2 separate regions of the Homo sapiens genome follow, and region 1 is linked to region 2. The links are contacts of gene promoters, found by promoter capture Hi-C in human tissues and cell types (Jung and others, 2019). All regions are on one chromosome and are shown on one strand. The core of a region is centred on a gene start or on the middle of the fragment in contact, and the rest is flanking DNA. Distances in the headings are between cores, read along the strand shown. Region 1 has its middle 180 kb from the start of LINC03084. Region 2 holds the start of ZFPM2 (zinc finger protein, FOG family member 2).

Region 1 (7,265 bases), core at 3,044-5,543, 310 kb before region 2:
AAGGAAAATTAGCTGGATTCAGTAACTTAATGCATTACAATTACAAATTAGTTAAGCAAAAATGACCTGTTTCTTCTAGCCTACAAATATAGGTATTCGGAAGGCACATCTGTAGCTCATAATAACTGCTATTTACTGAGTACCTAATACATTTGTGGAAACCAATGTAATACATTTTTTCAAAGATATACATTACCTAAATGAATCCTTCTAGTCACCTATTTTTATTTTATAAATGATGAAACCAAGGCTCATAGACAGTAAGGACTTAGTCTATGATCAAACAGAGTTAACAGAGCAAGAATTTAAAAGCAACGTCTCACTTAGCCACCGTGTTGCACTGTCAACCCATCAGAGAAGCTAAAATATAGTCTGGGATTGTACCACAGGACCACTCAAAATATAGAATCATAAATTATAAATATTATATGAATATTTCAAAGTATGCCTACTGTTTTTAAAACCTTTTAACCAGTTCATTTGTCCCAAGCCAGAGCCTTTGAAAACCTTTGAGTCATGGAGGCTTGCAAGTCTTCATTTGGACCATTGCATTAGTAAGAATATGGCTAAATTTCTTCTTTAAGCTTTTCTTATATTTTTATGTTCATGCTAATTACACCATGTACAAAGGAGTTTCACATATGTTTACAAAACAAACCCTTACTACACTTTTGTAATTACAAAGTCTGCCACTAAATTACTGTTTCATGTGTTTGTGTTTCAATTATTAACTGTGGCGGCATATAACTAAAGCTGAAAACATGTCATTTCTGTGATAATAAGTGAACGCAATTAGCAGCATATCTATTCCACACACAAAATATATTCATTTGCATTCTGTCTCCTTGTATTATTTAACTGCATTTAGGCCAAGTCATGTCATTTCTCTGTTACCTTTTTTTTTCAATCTAGAAGAACTCTGTCTGATTATATAAGTGCTTTTATGATGTCTAAATAAACAGAATTGGGTGAAGTGAAGATCAACAGACACATACCTCACTCACTCATTTGTTTATTTTCTGAATATTCTCCTAAAGCTCTCAATTCTTCCAATTTGTGGTGATTATTTTTAAACTGATGAGCTGGACAAACAATAAAACTTTGCAAGTTCTATAGTTTTATCAATCTCTTTTCCTGGGTGGGGAGCCAAGTCTCTTTATTACTTTCCAGCCATAGGCAAGTAGAAAAGTAGCTCTATTGTCAGTGTTGCATTCACATTATATTAGCCAAAACTCTGGGTGGTATGTAACAGAAACCCAACTCAAAATTGTTTTGGCAAAAACATGAATTAATACAGAGAATTTGGGATCTCACATAGAACTCAAATCTAAGAATGTAGCTGAACCTAATAAATGAATCGAGGTCAGGGACTCAAAAGTCATCAATTCTGGTTCTCTCTCTGTTGTCTTAGTGTCTGCTTCTTTCTTCTCTTCTTTCCACACTCTGCTTTATCAGCCATTCAGCTATGGCCATGGGTGGAGTCATCTGTTTATACTTGGCTGCTCCTTCTGCAATCTTGTGGATTAATTGCACATTTGTGATGATGAGGAAAAAATTCTTAGGAATAGGAGTGTTGGTCAGGCAATTCAATCCAGCAGTCACACATGTACACAAGTGAGCACACACAAATCAATGGCATGTTTGGATGACCAGAAACCATTTCCAACACCATCGCCTGCTTAATATTGGTCATGTTCTCAGACTACATGAAAATCAAACATGCTATAGTGTAGGAAAGGGCAATGGTTTCACTAAATGCAGTGAAATAATGACAATAGTTGCCATTATTGAGCTATTACCTTTGAGTAAGTCACAGTGTTAGAAGCTTTAAAAGCATAATCAAATTTAATTTTCACAATACTATAAAGAGGAAAATATTATTATCCCTATAGAATAATATTATAATGATGAGCTCCAATACTAGCATTATTATTACATGATGAAGCAAAGGCATAGAAAGAGCAAGAGCCATCTCAAAACTGCTCAGCCATGTGAAGTGGCAAAGCTGGATTCATTCTGCAGGCTCTGGGACTACAGAACCCATGTGGTTAACCACTAACCAGTTTATAATTGCATTCAATTTTCATTGTTGTGTCTTCTGTTCAAGATCTCAAAGTCAATTCCTAGAAACTAAGCACCCAGAGCATTCCACTGTGTGATGTTTTGATGGATTGAGATAAACTGATAAGTGATAAAATGATATTAATTATAAGAGAGTTGTAATTGTAGCAGAAATTGTCTGAAAATGGCTCTGTAACACTTGTATCTTAGTCCAGGTCCACTGGTTTTTGTCTGCCTAACCAGTTGTCCTTTCCGTTGTCCACTTGTTTGCCTTGTACACATTTTTTTCTACTCTTGTTCCTTAGAATAGGATTCTGTCCTATTCTGTTACCCTGCTTTTTTCCTTTACTTTAAACTTGGAAGGCAATCCTACCCTCAAAAAAGAGAAGAGATCCTAAACCAAACTCTGTTCACCCAAAACAGATGTAAAGGATACTTTATAACACCTATGTACATGCCATTCCAAAATGAAAAAATATTGACATTTAGTCATCTTTGATTCAGCACATCTTTAGAAAATATTAATAAAACACTACAGATATATTCATCAACAATATTTTTGTTTTGTACGTATTTTTAAATTTACATAATTTGTATTATACCACACATAATACTGTGCTGTTTGCTTTTTTTAATGAGATCTTATGCATTTGAGATCTGAATTGATTAATATCATGTATTCCCAGTAGCTGGGACTATAGGCATGCTTCCACCACGTCAGGCTAATTTTTGTTTTTGTAGAGACAGGGTCTTGCTACATTGCCCAGGCTGGTCTCAAACTCCTGGCCTCAAGCAAGTCTCCTGCCTTGGCCTCCCAAAGTGCTAGAATTACAGATATGAGCCACTGCACCGTGCTCAATATTTTCTCCTAATAGTTTTAGTTATATTTTTCACATTAAGATCTTTTTATACATTTAGACTTCATTTTTGTTTTATTTGTTTATAGTGTGTGTCGCAGATGCTGCTGACATTGTCTACACCTACCTAAGCTCTCCTGCAGCTTAAGAGAATTTCTGCAAGCTGACTATCCCCTTAAAAGTATTTGCATCTCTCTTCTGTGCATGGGAGGCTTCTCTGACACAAGACAGGTATCAAGATCCTGGACAGGTGTTGGGGGAGTTGATGCCCTGGGGCAACCTTCAAAAATGAGATCTATAGTGGTTCTAGGCATTTCAGGAGCCACGGCTTAAGGTGCAGACATGGCCAAGTCCAAGAATCACACCACACACAATCAGTCTCGAAAATGGCCCAGAAATGGCATCAAGAAACCCTGACCACAAAGATACGAATCTCTTAAGGAGGTGGACCCCAAGTTCCTGAGAATCATGTGCTTTGCCAAGAAGCACACCAAGAAGGGCCTAAAGAAGATGCAGGCCAACAATGCCAAGGCCATGAGTGCACTTGCCAAGGCTATCAAGGCCCTTGTAAAGCCCAAGGAGGTTAAGCCCAAGATCCCAAAGAGTGTCAGCTGCAAGTTCGATTGACTTGCCTATATTGCCCACCCCAAGCTTGGGAAGCATGCTTATGCCCACATTGCCAAGGGGCTCAGTCTGTGCCAGCCAAAGGCCAAGGATCAAACCAAGGCCCAGGCTGCAGCTCCAGCTACAGTTCCAGCTCAGGCTCCCAAAGGTGCCCAGTCCCCTATAAAAGCTTCAGAGTAGAGATCTCTGTCTGCCAACGTGAGGACAGAAGGACTGGTGTGACCCCCTTGGGCTGCCGTCTGCATAGGGCTGGTGTCCTCCTATGCTATTTGTACAAATAAAACTGAGGAGGGAAAAAAAATGGAATCCATAGATAAATGTTAGTTTCCCATCTTCTGGGGGACAATCTTAAGGAGTATATGCCACATGTTTTCTCCAAATTCACAGTGAGGATTAAGCTCCAATTTTCATTAACAGCAATCTGTTCATTAACACACCTTTTGTTAACTTTACTCTTCTCACTTTCTCCCGCTTCCTCACTTGAGCCACCAAAGATTGCCTCCAAGTAAACTGCTTGCACCCAAGTCTTCATCTCAGGGTCTGCCAAGCTAAGACACTGTGTGAGACTTTCTACTTTTATTTTTGGAAAGCCATTTTTCTCAATGCCATATATGGAGAAAATCCACTCTTTCTGCACAGATTTGAAGAAGATAATCTCTTATGAGCTTGGTTCCATTTTCCACCTCTCTATTCTACTATTCCATTCATATATTTCCACCAGTACTGCACTGTTTTAATATTCTGCCTTCAATACATGTTTCTTATCCTGCTATGCGAGTTTTTACCCCACTTTTCCTTAGAGAATATCTTACCTGTTTTAGTCCTTTATGCTTTCCAAATCAATTTTAGAATCACTTTGTCATGTTCCATAAAAGATTCCAACAGGATTTACACTGGAATTTTATGGAATTTATATATTGATGTTAAGATCATTTGTCCTTATAAAACTGAATCTTCCTGTACATGACAAATAAACATGCCACATCCCTTCATTTAATGAGAAATTCAATTAAGTCTTTCTGGAATTTTTTTTTAAATTTCTCTATAAAGACTTTGAACACCTGTTACGAAATGTATTATTGGTTTACAGTATTTATTCTCTATAATCAATGTTATTTTTTGTTCTATTATATTTTCTAAGTAGTTAATGCTGCTTCCACTGCTGCATGCTCATCATTAATCCTTGCCATTAATGGCAAGTATTAATTTAGCCTTAGCTCTGTGCCAAGCACTATAGTAATTGTTGAGGATACAGTAGTAAGCAAGACAGTTGGTCTTGCTCTCTAGGAGCTTCCAGTCCAATGGGGTAAGATGTCTCTTATTAGTGAGTACTCACAAATGCTCCAAAAAATGATAGTATACTAGGAAAGAACATGACTTGGAGCAATAAGATTCAGGAAAGGCATCTCTGAGCAGAAACATGAATATGATGAGGAAGAAAGTTACTCAGTATCTTGAGGGAAAATCCTTCCTAGCAGAGGAAATAGCAAATGTTGAGGCCCTACAACAGACAAATTCTCAGTATACTAATATTTTATCCAAAAATCTCAATGAACTATCTTAATTATTCTCATTAATTAATTAGAATTTCTATTGCATTTCTACACAATTCTGCTATCTAAAAATAATAAAGGAGTATTACTTCCTTACCAATCTCTATAATATTTATTTCTTTTTCTTATTTTATGAGATTGACTGAAAAGTCCAGTACAATGTTAAGGAAAGAGAGATAGTAAATAACTTTAATAAGAATATGTCTAAATGCTTAAAATATCTTTAGTAAAAAAAACCATTTATAAGGTTAAAGAAGCTCTTTTTCTTATCATCTTACTATTTTTTAAATTGGTAATAAGTAGTACATTTTTCTGCAGGACTTTTAATAAAAATTAGCAGTCACCTTGGCCACTCCTCTCAACTCTGATTCCTATCCTAAGATGCACCAATTTTAACCTTTTCCCTCTTGTTTTTAGAATTTCCTCCACATTTTTGAATAATACATTACTATGGTTATTTCTTTGTTTTTTTAGTTGTAGACATTGTTTTAGAGTTCCTGCTAGAGGAGCTTAGGATTTAGTTCTGTTTTTAGCACTCCATTCACACTTCTTTTACCCCCTTCTTCTGATGACAGATATATCAAAATTTTTGTTAATAAAATATTCAGTGTTTTTATGATATGTGGATACAGATATCTAGATATACATTTCACAGCCAAGTCATATAGTATACTATGTGTACATTTCTCATGTGACATTTTGTTTCTTTCCTTCCTTGTTTCTGTGGAGCACATCCTTCAGTAGCTTCCTGAAAAAGGATGCCAGTGGGAGGCAATACATATTTTAGATCTTTATTAAGTGTAAAAGTCTTTATTTCTACCCTCATACTTGATTGGGAATATGATTGGAAAGAGAATTCTGTAATCAAATTGCTTTTCCTCAGAATTATGAGGGTTATTTTTGCATTGTCCTCTAGTTGCCAGTGTTGCTGTTAAAATGTCTGATGTCATTCTAATTTTTAACACATTTTGTATGATTTTTTTCTCACTAGAAACAAATGTTAAGTTCTTATCACTAGAAACTTTTAAGATCTCCTTATCCTTAGTGTCTTGAAATTCCATGATAATGTTGCTCGAAGTCTGTGTATGTGTGTGTTTGTTCTCATATTCATTGTGATAGGCACTCAGTAGGGCTTTTCATTTTGAAGACTCATACCCTTCAGTTATGGGAATTTTTTTTGTCTCTAGTCTTTGACAATTTTCTCCTTCCTGTTTCTCTGTTCTTTCTTTCTGAACTCTTAGTATTCACATACTCATTTAAACATCTTTTCTTTTTTAATCTCTTGGGATTTTTGCTTTGCTTTCTGGGAGATTTCTCCAACTTTATTTATTTATTTTTTATTTTTCTGAGAGAGGGAGTCTCACTCTATTGCCCAGGCTGGAGTGCAGTGGCATGATCTCGGCTCACTGCAACCTCCGCCTCCCAGATTCAAGCAATTCTCCTGCCCCAGCCTCCTGAGTAGCTGGGATTACAGGTGTGCACCACCACACCAACTAATTTTTTGTATCTTTAGTAGAGATGGGGTTTCGCCATGTTGGCCAGGCTGGTCTCGAACTCCGGACCTTGTAATCTGCCCGCCTTGGCCTCCCAAAAGTGCTGGGATTACAAGCGTGTGCCACTGCGCCCGGCCCCAACTTTATATTTTTATTGCCCAATCCTTCTATTAACCTTTTTATTTCTGACACCATTAAAATTTTTTTCCAAGACCTCTTTCAGAATTTGAGTGTTTCTTTTTTTCAGACTTCCTATTCTCATTTCAAGAATGCAATATCTTCCCTTTTCTTTGAGACTATTAAATTATTTCTTTAGAAGTTTTTTCTGCTTCTTTTGTCTTTGTTTCCTCCATTTTTCTTTTTCCTTATGTATTTGCTTTGTTTCTGTCTCGAAGGTTTAGAGATCCGTCAGTGCCTGGTCATGTTAAAGTGTGAAGCACAAAGGAGCTAACCAGAAATGGGGATGTTGGGTTCCTCATAAAGTGAGCTCATTGTAAAGTGACAAGACAGTTATTGTTAGGTCTATGCTCTTGGGCAGGTTGCTTTTCTCAAAAATGCACCCACTAAGGGTCTGCCTGATGAATATAAGCAAGTCTGCTGGTCCAGGGCCAAAGGGAGGAGAGGCTGGAGTTCTCACACATCAGGATGTAAATGCTCACTTAGCCATCTTGTTTTCA
Region 2 (7,204 bases), core at 751-3,250:
CTAAACATTTAGCTGAGATTTATTTGTTTTTCTTTTGCATTGCATATTTAACCACTTCAAACTCCAAAAGAAACAGTTACGATATTTTAATTCCAATGGGCATTCCTTTTGGGTGACATAAAAATTCAGCCAGTTCTGTAAAAAGATCTTTAAAAACCATAATGTACAATACATCTGATTCTAAGCACACCAATTTAACTGTAATGAATTGAAAATGAAGGAGGTAAAAATCTGCAGTTCTCTCTCTGCTTATTTATTCCACAACACAAACATAAATGGCCCTGCTTTTCATGGTACTTTCAGCCTTAATTTGTTGGTTCTTCACAGGAGGGACTTTGTCATTTAGTGCATTTTCCACTGCAGAGGACTATGTATTCTTACAGCCTCCTATGGTAATAGTACTAATGGTAATGTAATAAAATTCACAATTTGTCTTCAGCTTTGTATTAAGATTCTCTTGGCCATACCTTTCACAAGGCAACTCTTTACACCTTCCAGAAGATGTCCTGTTGGGGTTATAAATGACACTGATTACAGTGCCTCTTACACACTGAGCATCTTGCATTATGCTCAATCAGCCCAGGCTCTGTGCTGACCCCAGACCCTTTTAGAGTATCCAGTTTGGTGTGGTTCACACAAATAATAGTCAACCAAGCAAACGGGGACACAATTTGAGATCAGAATGGTCCACTTCACAACCTCCTGGGGGAAAAGTCAGCAGTATCTGGGGGACTCATGTGAACTGCAGTGGAGTTTATTAGTAAATACTGATTACATAAAGCAGCTAGTCCCACTGCACTTGGATAGAAGCTCCTTCCAACCCACATGGGAGAATATATTTAATACTTACCGTATATGAAACTGTAAGAAAATAAGCTAACCTCATACAGTTTAACTTGGCCAAAATAATAACTATGCAAATCACCTCAAAATTTGTTCTCCTTTTGGCTTGCAGTTGCCGATATACTACACATACAGTAATTGAATAAGAATAAAACAAAATTTTAGAAGCTAAAGAACCATTAAATAGTTACTGGGTCTTACCCGCTTGGGAAATTACAGCAAGATCAAATCTTTTATTAGTCGATCGGTGCTTCCCTGTGGCAGAAGACTAAGAGAATAGAAAGGTCACGGGGCAGGGTGGGACTACAGAACTTCCCCAGACTTTCCCAAAAAGTTAGTATTTTTATTAGAGATGGTTCGTTTTCCACTTACGGCTAATCAGCTAGCTAACGCTCGCTCCTCCTTTTCAAGATGAGAAAAATATCTGCTTGTCTCCAAATTTGAATATTTTACAATTTAAAATGGAAACTGTGGGTGACAGAACACGTTGAGGATCCGACTCAGCACCTCATCCACGTGGGCCCAGAGCGGGACGGTCCGTGTCCGCAGCGGTCTCCTGGGAGCCTTGAGAGCAAAGAAATGGTCTTCTGAGAGCCTGGGCAGATGAGCGGACTTAACTGGCCCCAAGACACACAGTTGGCATTTGTGATCATCTGGCTCTCGCCGAGGACTTTGCCAGTGGCCTAACCTTCCTGCCAAGAAGCTGGGAGGGCGGGGGTTGGGGGTGAGGGGAGGGGGCGGCATAACTGAAAGCACAAAGTTTAGGGAGAGACTGAGATTTCTTTGTGCCCCGCTGGACTGGCGAGGCGTGAGAGAGGAGAGTTGGGGTCCCTCAGAGAGGGCCGTTGGAAGAAGTTGCCTGGAAGGAGGTGGGGCGGGGTGCCCTGGCAGCTGCCCAGCGTTGACGCGGTGACAACTGCAGAAGGTGGCCCTCCTCCAAGCCGTCCCCACGCCTCCCCTCCAACTCCCACCCACCCCTGCCCCCATCCCCCACCACCGCCTGGATCCCCCGCACTTCGCCCGACCAAGGCCGGGGCCGTAGTTTGCATCCGGACTGGATTTGGATGCAGCCAATCCTCCTTTGGCTGATGGAATAGTCTCCCCTCCCCACAGCCCCGGCGCGCCCCTCCCTCGCGCGCCTCGCCGCCTCCCGCCGCAGAACAGGAGCTGCGCGGCCCGGAGCGGCGGCGGCGGCGCCGGAGTATCCGTCCCGCACGCCGGGGCGAGGGGCGAGCGAGCGCGCTCCTCCTCCCGCGCCCTGCGCCCCCGCGCTCCCCCTCTCCTCGCTGCTCGCTCTCCCGTCCCTCCCTCCTTCTCTTCCTTCTTTCCGTGTTATTTTTCTCTTCTCTTTCCCCTTTTCTCTCTCCCTGACCGTTCGCTTGTACATTCCCATTCTCCCCCCGTCGCTCTCCTCTCCCCCTCCCCTCCTCACTGTCACACTCTCTGTGCCCCCGTCTCTCTTCTCTCATTTGCTTGCTCATCTCCGAACGTGAATCCGCGGCTCCCGGAGGAGCCCAGCGCCCGGAGCACCTGGAGTCCGGCCGGCGGCGGGCCGAGCCTGGCCAGCGGCGGCGGCGGCGGCGGCGGCGGCGGGAGCCGAGGGAGCGGCAGCCGCGACCGCGGGCACCGCGGGAGCCCCAGCGGCAGCAGCCGCCGCCGAGATGTCCCGGCGAAAGCAAAGCAAACCCCGGCAGATCAAACGTAAGTTTGCGCGCGGGGCCGGGAGTTGGTGGGATTATTGCCCAGGAGCGGGGTGCGCGGGACGGGAAAGCGGTGGGTGGGTGGCGGGGCTAGGGGAGATCCGCTCCCGGTCCCCTAGATGTCTCAAACTTTGCCTGAGCAGTCGAAGGGACAACTAGACAGTCATAGACAGACAGACGGCCAGCCCGAGCCTCGGGCAGGAGAGAGGCTGCGAGGAGCAGCCCATGCTTGCCCCGCTCAGCCCTCGCGCTCCCGGGCTGCTTTTTTAATTCCGACCCGCGCACGCTGCGAGTCCCCGGCGCTGTCGTCCAGCCGGAGGGGCAGTCCCGCTCCTTTAGACGCTTATTATTGTTGTTGTCATTGCTTTGTGCGATTGACGTGGGACTACTCTTGGGAACCACTTTTAGTAACCAGGGTAGAAACTTCTCAGAAAAGCTGGGCGGTCGAGACCTCGGGGCGAGGGAGGTAACTTCCCCACGCGGTGGAAAATCAGAGCGTCAGGGTCCCGATCCTGGGCGGTGCCAGAGCCACACCAAACCCGAAGCGAAACAAAAAGTAGGTGTAAAAGTTCGCGCCTCTGCGGCGGGCGGCCGTGCGTCTCTGCCCTGCGGGCGCGGGCTGGTGGCTGGCAGGTCGTGTCCTGGGACTTCGGGCGGGTCCGGCTCACGCCGCCAGGACGCTCAGCCGAGCGGGGATTCGGGTGGTGTCTGGCCCTGGTGGCGCGCGGAGTCCTCCCTGGGAGGGGCCGCCAGTCACTTCCCAGCGCGGAAGCTGTGAGTTCAAGGCGGTGGGCGCGCAGGGGAGTGCATGGCCCTGAGCCCCCGGGTGCCCGGGGGTCCCGATGGTGCTTAGAGGACACGGCGGGTCAAGAGACACCTTCCGAAACAGGCACGCTCGCAGAGATCAAGTCGGTCAACTTTTCTTGGCTTGGGGAGAATTCCTCCAATAGCGTTTTATAGGCCTGCGACATATCTTCAACGCTTTGGCCGAAAAGAAGAAAAAACCTTATTAGTTTATTTTTTGCTAGCTTTATGATGTGTCTGTTTCACCGTGTTGCTCAGAGTCTGCAATTAGTTTTAAACAAATTATGATGTAATTTAAGGATAAGACTTTAGTAGTATCCCTTTCCCCCCTGATTATTAACCATACTCGCCCCACCCCCAAATGTTGAAAATTCTATTTGGTGTAGTTTAAAAATAAATCTTATCAATCAACTTGTCCTTGAAATGGGGGCCAGGTTATAAACAGTTATCAACAGTTAAGTATTCAGATCTTTGTGTGTGTGTGTGTGTGTGTGTGTGTGTGTGTGTGTGTGTGTCTGCTACTTAAACATGACTTTCTAGCTTTTATTTCTTCGATTCCTTCTCTTATACTTCAGTTCTCACTCTATGCAACTTGGGTTAAAGCAAGTACTGGACTTCACTTTTGGCTCAAAGCAGTTTTAATCAAGTAGCGATATCGTTTTTGAAGACTCACTTTTTCAGAATGATTATTCATGGTTTCCACCAATTGCCTTGTAGTTTTTAGGACTCAATTGATCAGATTCCTCTGTTTAAATGTTGCATCTTAGAATACAAAACCGTGCTTATTATAAGATATGATTATAAACATTATTAGATACAAATGCTTTTTAGTTCATGGCTGTCACCTGGGTTTGTTAATAAATAATTAATATTAATTGATTGTATGGCACAAGACCATCTGATTTTACTTGGGAATACTTTGTTATCTTCTCAATTAGCTACATTAATTTTTTTATTTCCTTCTATGTCCACCTCATATAATTGAAGATTAAAGCATTGAAACTAATTGCTGATGCTACTCTTGTGTTACAAGTCATAAAACATTTTAGTGGTTTATTTGAATGCTGTGATTTATTAAGTATCAAAAATGCTTGAAAGTTATTTCATTTGAAAGTGAACAAATATATTTATATATTTATTCACAGTGAGCATTGCCTGCTGATATATGCATACATATGTATTATTTATATGCATGTAATACTTTTATTGGATTCAATTTGGGGTCACAGTGATAATCTGTGCAAATGTGGACACCCCTTCTTCCATTCCACCGTTAAGAAAAGTGAAAAATTAAAGGTCTTTGAATTTCTATACTGGAGTAGTCCTCTTCTTTTAGCTTTTTTAGGGGGTGGGGGAGATACTTAAATGTCGTTTGACCAGCTTTAAAGTCATTTTAGTTGCAATCTATTGACGTTTGTCTCCTTTTGCCTGTTCAGGCATAAGAGGCAGTTTCGCAGATGGAGAAGTTTGTGTTGATATCCAAAGTCGTTATTATTGTAGGTCTCTCCCCCCAGTTTTAGTAGTGCGTAAGAAGTGCACCATTTTCTATTACAAACAACACTGTTACTTTTGATGTTCTGGATCAAATATAAGTTTGGAGAATCTCAGAAAGCTATGCTCTGTGAAACAATAGCATTTCACGCCAGTAATAAAACTGCATTTTAAACTTGGAAATGTCCAGGATTAGAAAATAAAGCTTTGGCACTGCTGATAAAACATACCCAATTTGAAGCAACTATGACAAGCAAAAAGTCAGCTTATACCAGAAACTCTGAAGACAGTCAATTTAAAGGACAAAAAGGTTGTTGGGCACAGTTTTTTTTTTCTTTTACTGCATACAGTTCCCTGCTATCTAAAATTGTGATTTATGCAGTATTTTAATATTTTGCTTATTCTTTCCCCTTGGGTGCTCTCCGGGCAGCGATAAAAAGGCGACGCTGAAAGAGCACCATTAATTTGCTATGATGACTGGCCAGATAAGAGGAGATAATGGGAAAGATAAGCGGAGAAGATATACCATCAGAAACCCGATTATTACCATTAAAATTCCAGCCCAGCAATCTGCAGAAGCCTGATAATTCCTTCTCCGTTTCCACCACTTTGGATGATAAGGCAAAAAATAGTCACTCAGTGCTCCTTGATTAGACTGCCTGGATTTCCTGATAATACAGTGATAAATTATGTATTTTGCCCCCATGTTTTGTCCCAAAATTCAGATTTTTTTTTCCTATTCCAAGACTATATTTTCTGCCCTCCCCTCAGAAGCTTTCTCTCATAAGCTATTATTGTAATCCTGGTTTGATAAAAAGCCCTGATAGGACGGGAGGTGTTTGGTGTGGGAGCCATATCATGCTATCAGCCCATCTCCCCGCACAGCTGCTCGCTGTTGTTGTTTTTAGCCTTATCACCTCCTGCCAATATGCCAATAAATTGCCCAGATTGTTCTCCATTCTGGGGCTGCAGTGCAAAATTTATGACAGAAATGATGATTTTTTTCTTTTACCAATGCATCTCTTTATGATTAGTAAATGTGTTGTGTGTGCAGTTTTATTGTTATTTTCTTCTTCAAGCTGTTGTCTCTAGTAATGTGTTTACTGCCTTATATGTCCCCAACTCCAGTCACACTGAAGTGTATTGGCTATGGGTGCAGGAAGAGGTGGACATCACTTTTTTTTTTTTTTTTTGCAAATGAATGTCATTATCTGCTCTCTAGTAGTTAATATAGAGCTTGAAAAGGAGAAACTCAAGTAATTTATTTTTGTATAAGATTAGGAAAAGGCACTCTTCTTTATACCATAAAAGTAGAGTTTTCATAAAACTTTTAGATTGCTTGATCTTTTCAGAGCGTAGTGCATAAATGTTTGGTCTAGATCAGGTGCCAAATAATTTGTGGTGAAGTATAATGAAAGGGTGAATTAAGAGGCAGAATGTTTTCTTCTTGAAAAGTGAAGCAGATACTGGAAATTAGCATGCATGTTGAAAGTAAAATGTTCTGGTTAGAGAATAATCTTGTTAGCAGTTCGGTAGAGGGTCTTTCCCAGAAGTTGGAATCCATTCATATTGAATAATTACCATTTTGTTATTTGAGATGATATAACAATTTTAGGCCGTACGAATTCCTAACTTGCGCATTGGCATTTTAATGTTCTATGCTATTTTTATAAAGGGTAGGTTATAGTCAATATTTTATGCATAAAACAATTATTGTTTTAAAATAAGAATATTATATATTAAATTTATTATTTAATATTTGTCACATGAAAACCTCTAGTTGGATCATTTCTATAACCTTAAAATTATGTTATGCAAATAATTGAGTATGGCTATTTTTCATTGTTCTATGGGTCTTTTAAAAGTCTTTCTTCTATTGATATTCAATCTATAATTTTAGGGTTAATTATCTACTGTGTTGTCTTTGATATTTTTATTTTTAAAAATGTTTTGGGAATACTACCTATATTTGAAAACATTGATCATTGTTATACACAGTTAGAATGTCTTTTTTTTCTCCTGCCAAATATTAAGACAGGTTTTTGTTTTGAAACAAATAAGTTATTTTTTTTCTGAATTTTAGGGATAATTGAATATAATGCAAAATAATTCTTCTCTTTGGTCTGTAATACTTCTCATATTGGAGATTTTTATTTTCTACATTTTTGACTGAGCAACATTTCGGAAAACCTATTTTTACACGTGCCACAAATTAAAGGAACCTGTATTCTGTATAATAGTTGTTTTAGCAATAAAACAGATAGAATAGTACCTATTGCTTGTAAGATAGCATAAAAATAATTTCCTGATTTATGAATTTGAAATAATATCAATGCATAGATTTTTTCTGGAAAAATCTAGGAATA

Evidence for each region. The method cuts DNA at HindIII sites, captures the fragments that hold promoters and counts their contacts. A contact is called where the count stands out against the background at its distance.
Region 1: a fragment that was not itself captured here is called in contact with the fragment with the promoter of ZFPM2 in region 2 in 2 of the 25 tissues and cell types used here (H1 embryonic stem cells and IMR-90 fibroblasts).

Annotation. Positions count from the first base shown.
Region 1 is chr8:105,007,847-105,015,111 of GRCh38, forward strand. It overlaps the pseudogene RPL29P18. Among named protein-coding and RNA genes, the nearest start is that of LINC03084, 180 kb to the right of the region's middle. The HindIII fragment of the contact is 6,178 bases long and covers 1,205-7,265 here.
Region 2 is chr8:105,316,438-105,323,641 of GRCh38, forward strand. ZFPM2 (zinc finger protein, FOG family member 2) reads left to right here and starts at 2,001. Exons shown (of 8, transcript NM_012082.4): 1 at 2,001-2,544. The coding sequence starts at 2,505. RefSeq lists an enhancer at 4,865-6,194. The HindIII fragment of the contact is 7,749 bases long and covers 1-5,327 here.